Linked DNA regions of Homo sapiens: region 1 is linked to region 2. The links are contacts of gene promoters, found by promoter capture Hi-C in human tissues and cell types (Jung and others, 2019). All regions are on one chromosome and are shown on one strand. Each heading gives the region's core, a stretch centred on a gene start or on the middle of the fragment in contact. The rest is flanking DNA. Distances are from core to core; before and after follow the strand shown. Region 1 overlaps PATJ (PATJ crumbs cell polarity complex component). Region 2 holds the start of KANK4 (KN motif and ankyrin repeat domains 4).

Region 1 (3,191 bases), core at 333-2,832, 180 kb before region 2:
CTGCCTTGTTACTTTTTTTTTTTCTCCTTTAAGAACCCAACACCTATCTCCTTGTAACCTCCATCAGTCTCACCCTGCTCTGTGGAAATTCAGAAAATTGAGTCCCAAAAAGCAACCACAGAAAATTGAGTCCCATAATCCCTATTCCTTATGACAGTTTTAGATTCGCTCATTCACTCCACAATTATTAAGCAATTGTTATGTGCTAGACACATTAGCATTGTGCTGAGGAGAAGCAGTCCTGATCCTCATGGATCCTGTGATTGGGTGGGAAATACAGTCAACATGCACATAGATGCTAATCACCATAATTTGTGAGAAATACTTGGAGAGTGCTATGGAGAGGAAAACAGGAGAAATTAAACACGGATGGTCAAAGCAGGCTTGTAGAAGGGAAGTGACATTTAAGCTGATGCCAGGCACGCTGGTTTGGGGGATGGGGGGAATTCCCCGCCTGGAGAGGGAACTGGAATGTGGGGTGGAGTCGAGAGAGAGACAGGATTAGAGGAGTAGGCTATGGAGGGAACTTTATATGCATAATTAAAGTCTGAATTTTATTCCAAGTCCAAAGGGAAAACACTACAAGGTTTTAAGCAGGGGAGTGCGGATACCCGTTTTATATTTGAAAAGGTAACTGGCTAACGTGTGGGAATGAGGTGAGACAAAGGTGAATGGGGATTCCAGCTAACAGGCACTTGATGATGAACTGAATTAGGATGGTCACCTGTAGATGGAAAGTAAAGTTTTGAGAAGGATTTTGGAGGTAGAATCCAGGGGACTTGATGGATTACGTACAGCAAGCAGGAGTGGAGGGATCAGATATTCAGAGAGCGATCAGCTATATGGCTGGCATCCTAGCATCCTTTCCAGTTAGACAGGCACCAGCCAGCACACCAGTATTTTCACTATTTCACCCAGTATATTTCTAACTTGGCATCTGGAGGTGCCATTTACTAAAATGAGGAAAACTAGAAGAAAAGTGAATTGAAGGAGATGAATTGTTAGATCAAAAGTTTGAATATTGTGTTAATTTTGATACATCTTTGAGATATTAAAATGCAGATGTCAAGTTGGCAATTGGATATCACAGACTAAGCTGGGAATTTTTTTTTTTTTTTTTTTTTTTTTTTTTTGAGACAGCGTCTCCCTCTGTCACCCAGGCTGAAGTGCCATGGCTTGATCTCGGCTCACTGCAACCTCTGCCTCCTGGGTTCAAGCGATTCTCCTGCCTCAGCCTCCCAAGTAGCTGGGATTACAGATGCCCACCACCACGCCAGCTAATTTTTGTATATTTAGTAGAGACCAGATTTCACCATGTTGGCCAGGCTGGTCTTGAACTCTTTACCTCAGGTGATCCAGCCCACTCTGCCTCCCAAAGTGCTGGGATTACAGGCGTGAGCCACCACGCTGGCCTAAGCTGGGATTGTGAGCACGTTGGAATGTAAAGCTGTGGGAATGTACATGCTGTCACTTGAGCCTGAGTGTGCAAGTGGATAATGGGCCCAGGACTGCACCATGAGAGATGAATGGAAGAAGAGCAAAGAGATGGAGAAACAGGCCCCTGCAGAAGGAAAGCCAGAAGAGTGTGGGTCATGGAAGTTTGGGTGGGAGATGGGGATGGAAGCTGGAGTGGGGTAGGTTTATAAAGATGGTGGACTTCAAGAGTAGGGAGGATAAAAGAGTTCATGGACAAGTTAACCTTCCAGTACACTTGCTGTGGAAGAGAGCAGAAAGCTGGTGCTAAGAGGAGAGACTTTTCGGGGCAGGGAGAAATCTATCGTTTCCTCCTTTAATCTTTCGTCCTAAATATTTCCCAATTCATTCCGTCATTCTTCATGCAGTGGTATTTCCAGAAGATTCTATAACTTGGACATAGCAGTGTTTTCCCCAGAATAGGATGCTTCACCCAAAATGTGTTCTCATTCTTCATACAGTGGTACTTCCAGAAGATTCTGTAACTTGGACATAGCAGTGTTTTCCCCAGAATAGGATGCTTCACCCAAAATGTGTTCTGGGGCAGGCCTATTTTCTTTCTTTTTCTGCTCTACTTAACAGATGAAGCTTAATTTAGCATTTTAGGCAGCTGTGCCCTCTGTTGGCCTTTTCTGAAATTGCAATCAAGTCGAGCTTTGCATTGCTGGCAGACAAAGTTCCCTCTGTATTTGTGCAGTGAGAATTATAACCCAGAAGCAGAGGTAACCAAGGAGCTCTTGAGAAAGTATCTCTGGTAACTAGTTGAGGTGGAAGACAACTCCAGGATAAGGAGGCAAAACAGACTTTTATGATTCCCATTTAATAGATGAGGAAGCTGAAACTCACATATGGCATTGATAAGAGGCTGAAACTGAACTCTGGAACTCCATCCTGAGTCCTGTTGTGGACTCCCAGAGCTATACTATATTTCTTCTAAATGCTCTAGAATGTTATTTGCAAAAAAAAAAAATATATATATATATATATAATTAGCAGAATACAAAGTGCCATTATTCTACTATACCTTTGTTTTTGTTTGTGGGTTTATTTTTATCTTATTTTATTTTTGAGACAGTTTTACTCTGGAGTGCAGTGATACGATCTCTGCTTATTGCAACCTCTGCCTCCCAAGTAGCTGGGACTCCAGGCCTGTGCCACCACACCGGCTAATTTCTTTTGTACTTTTAGTAGAGACAGAGTTTTGCCATGTTACCCAGGCTGGTCTTGAACTCCTGAGCTCAAGTGATCCGCCCACCTCGGCTTCCAAAAGTGCTAGGATTACAGGTGCGAGCCACCGTGCACAGCCTATTCTACTATACCTTTGTTTAGGACTATCTAAGAGGCAAATCTCAGGGAGTCAGAGATATTCATCCATTCTTTCATTCACCAGTTATTTACTGAGCACCTGCTATGTGCTAGGCACTCTTCTATGTGATGGGGAATACAGGAGTGAACAAAGCAGACAAACTTCCTGCCCTTACATTCTAATATGAAGTGATAGACAATAAATAAGATAAACAAGGTAAGATGTATGCAGTTCATTAGATAGTGATGGTGGTAAGAAGGAAACAGGCCAGGTAAGGTGGCTCACGCCTGTAATCCTCCTTACTTTTGGAGCCAAGGTGGGAGGATTACTTGAGCCCAGGAGTTTAAGACCAGCCTGAGCAACACAGTGAGACACTGTCGCTACAAAAAATAAAAAGTTAGCTGGGCATGGT
Region 2 (3,159 bases), core at 318-2,817:
ACCAGTGCCTGGCACAGAGCATTTGTTGATTGAATCAGTCTGGTCTGATCCCCGAGCCATTCCCCAAAACTCACTTTCCCCAGGTCACATTATGGTCCAGTGAAGTGGGAAGGCTGGGCTTGAAAAGGCAGTATTAGAACGGACTCTGCCTCCATTCCCAGTGTAGCTTTCCTGTGTCACATTTTGAGAGGCTCTAAGCAACCTGGGCTTGATTTACCCAAGCAGGTCCTTGGGAATCGTGTTTAACTCAAGATGCTTTCTCCCCATGCCTCAGCCGGGTCACTGGCTGCATCTGATCCTCCTCTGGCCCTATTTGGTAGATAGGACTTTGCCCAGGCCTCAGGGGGTCCTCCTCCCTCTCCTGGAAAATACTCCCTCTTTGCCCTAAAGGCTTGCACTCCAGGGCGCTTAGGAACTAAGACTTGAGTTTGGCAGCCCCGAAGGATGCCCAGGGCAAGAGTTAGGTTCAGACCCAGCGTAGCGGCCATGGGCTCGACTTTCCAACTCCCATTTCTGGCCAGTCTGCGGGGTCAAAGTACCCAGTCACAGATTTGACCTTACCGGAGAGGCAGAAGGGAAAGGAGCCCACAGGAGGCATGCGGGCTGGGCAAAGCGCCCTCGGCGGCGTCTAGAGCACTCGGAGCTGCCCCATTGCCTCCGCCCAAGGTCGCGGCCCAAAGGGAGCCCTGGAAAGTTCAGCCAGGGGCCGAGGAGTGCCAGGGTTGGCACTACGGGGAGACTTTTGCGACAGGAGAGAGACTAAGAGCTCGATTCCAGGTAGCAGTGGGAGCCCGCGGCAAAGAACGCCCAGTCCCGCAGGCTGCATCCCAGACCGCAGCGCCTAGCTCGGAAAAGCTGGGCGGGGGCTGCACCACCTGAGTCGCAAGGACAGCACGGCCTCCCCCTCCTCACCAGTGTTCTCCACCCCCAGAATTGGGGCGCGGAGAGCCAATCTGGGCTGGAAAGGGAGCGGCGCCCACCTTTGGGCAGCCCGAGCAGCCCCGCTCCTTTTCTGTCGCAGACCCCAGGCTGGGAGGCGGGGGCGCCAGGTCGGCCCAAGCTGCCGCAGCCACTGCTTTAAAGGGAGCCGGGGACGCGGCGCTGGGGACTGGGCGAGGCGGGTGGCAGAGGCAAGAGGAGAGTGGTCGAGCGCCGGGGCCAACACTCGGGTCGCGCAGGGCGGGTGTTGAACACCCCAGCAGACGCACTGCGGGGGACTGGGGTCGCAGAGTCCCTTACCTTGGCGAGCTGCGGAAGTCCTGCGCGAGGCGGCCCGCGGTGCACGGGGCCGGGGCAGCTAGGCGCACACCCCGGCTTCGGAGCGCACGCAACCTCCGGGTGCACTGTCCGCGTCCCAGGCGCGCACCCCGGGGCTGGCGCACCCTGGTCGTCCGCGGCGCGCACACCCTCCAGGCGCCCTCTGGCCGACGGTCTCGGCCCTGGCCCCGGCGCACCCCTGCGGGCACACCCACCGCGGCGGATGCGGGACTGGCCAGGCGCCGCCAGCCGCGGCTTCGCCCCGCGTCGCCAGCTGCCAACAGCGCCCGAGTCCCCGCCTTCGCTAGGGGAGAAAAAAAAGACTCCTGACGCGGCGCGGACTTTGGTGTGTAGGAAGGGGCAGAATTGCGAAACCGAGGGGAGGGTCTTAGCCTCGATAAACTCAAAAGCCCTTGATAAACATGAGCTTAGAAGAAAAACTTTTTGAAAAGAGACCAAAAACTCCTAACCTGTTCATAGCGCTTTTCAGATTCCCAAAGTGCTTTCGTATGCGTTTATCTCGGTTCATCTAGACATTTCCATCCTCATTTGATAGGTGCAGAAACAGCACCAGACAAGGTAATGACTTGCCCCAGCCAGGACTGGAACCTAGGTCTGGCCACTGGGAAGCTGGGTGCAGTAAGTTAGGTCCTCGCCAGCGGATGTGGGCCAGTGAGGGCTGGGGTCCTAGTAACAGAACTTTTACCTCTCCTAAATCGTCTTTTTCCATCTCCTTTTTTTCTTCCCAATCCTTGCTGTAGTCCCACTCAGGAACCCTAAGTCTTTCATTTCACACTCCGACCTCCCACCAAAGGTTTGTTGTTGTTGTTGCTGTTTGAGACGGAATCTCGCTCTATGGCCAAGCTGGAGAGCAGTGGCGCGATCCCGACTCACTGGAACTTCCGCCTCCCTGGTTCAAGCGATTCTCCTGCCTCAGCCTCCCGAGTAGCTGGGACTACAGGCGCACACCACCACGCCCAGCTAACTTTTGTATTTTTAGTAGAGACGGGGTTTCACCATGTTGGCCAGGCGGGTCTCGAACGTCAGGTGATCCGCCCACCTCGGCCTCCCAAAGTGCTGGGATTACATGCATGAGCCACGGCGCCCGGCCCACCAGAGTTTTTTATCAGTTCAAAATGTTTGCGTTTCAACCGCTAACCTTGAATGAACAGTTCACTAAGTGCCTGGTGGGCGTTGTGCACCCTAACCCTAGGAAAAAGGAGCTGCTGCTACTCCTCCTTTACAGATGAAGACAACAGAGATAGGCAAGTAGAGGGCCGTGGACCCCGTAAGACTCCGGATGCCAGCTCTGACCCCCACAATGGGCATCCTTCATGGGCCCATTGGCAAGGGCTAACACTTAGGCAAAGGGGTTTCGTTTTTGACATTGTGACCCAGATGGGGGAGTACTTTCTAGGACTTTCATTTTACGTTTTTATAGAAATATGGTTATTTGAACGATTTCACTTCCACTAGAGCTCCACTGGAGCAAATCAATATCCCAGAGCAATAATAAATGGCAGCAGAGACTTGGTCCCAGTGTTGGGACATAGTAGGGAGTGGTGGGGACTGTGGTGAGCTTGATAGCAGCTCCAGGTTCTTGCCCAAGGGAAGGGGCTGCTGCTACTCAGCTCAGTCTATTTTGTCATCTAGGGAAAGGGATTCATGTGGCCAGATCCTCCCATTTTGAAAAAGAAGCCATCAGCCGGACACGGTGGCTCACGCCAGTAATCCCAGCACTGTGGGAGGCCAAGGTGGGTGGATCAGCTGAGGTCAGGAGTTTGAGACAAGCCTGGCCAACATGTGAAACCATCTGTACTAAAAATACAAAATTAGCAAGGTGTGGTGGTGCGTGCCTGTAATCCCAGCTACTCAGGAGGCTGAGGCAGGAGAATCACTTGA

Evidence for each region. Contacts are between HindIII fragments. The study calls those that stand out against the background at their distance.
Region 1: a fragment that was not itself captured here is called in contact with the fragment with the promoter of KANK4 in region 2 in 1 of the 25 tissues and cell types used here (H1 embryonic stem cells).

Annotation. Positions count from the first base shown.
Region 1 is chr1:62,142,336-62,145,526 of GRCh38, forward strand. All of the region lies in intron 41 of PATJ (PATJ crumbs cell polarity complex component), which reads left to right. Among named protein-coding and RNA genes, the nearest start is that of L1TD1, 51 kb to the right of the region's middle. The HindIII fragment of the contact is 6,313 bases long and covers 1-3,191 here.
Region 2 is chr1:62,317,867-62,321,025 of GRCh38, forward strand. KANK4 (KN motif and ankyrin repeat domains 4) reads right to left here and starts at 1,568. Exons shown (of 10, transcript NM_181712.5): 1 at 1,240-1,568. RefSeq lists enhancers at 161-885, 886-1,608. The HindIII fragment of the contact is 19,099 bases long and covers 1-3,159 here.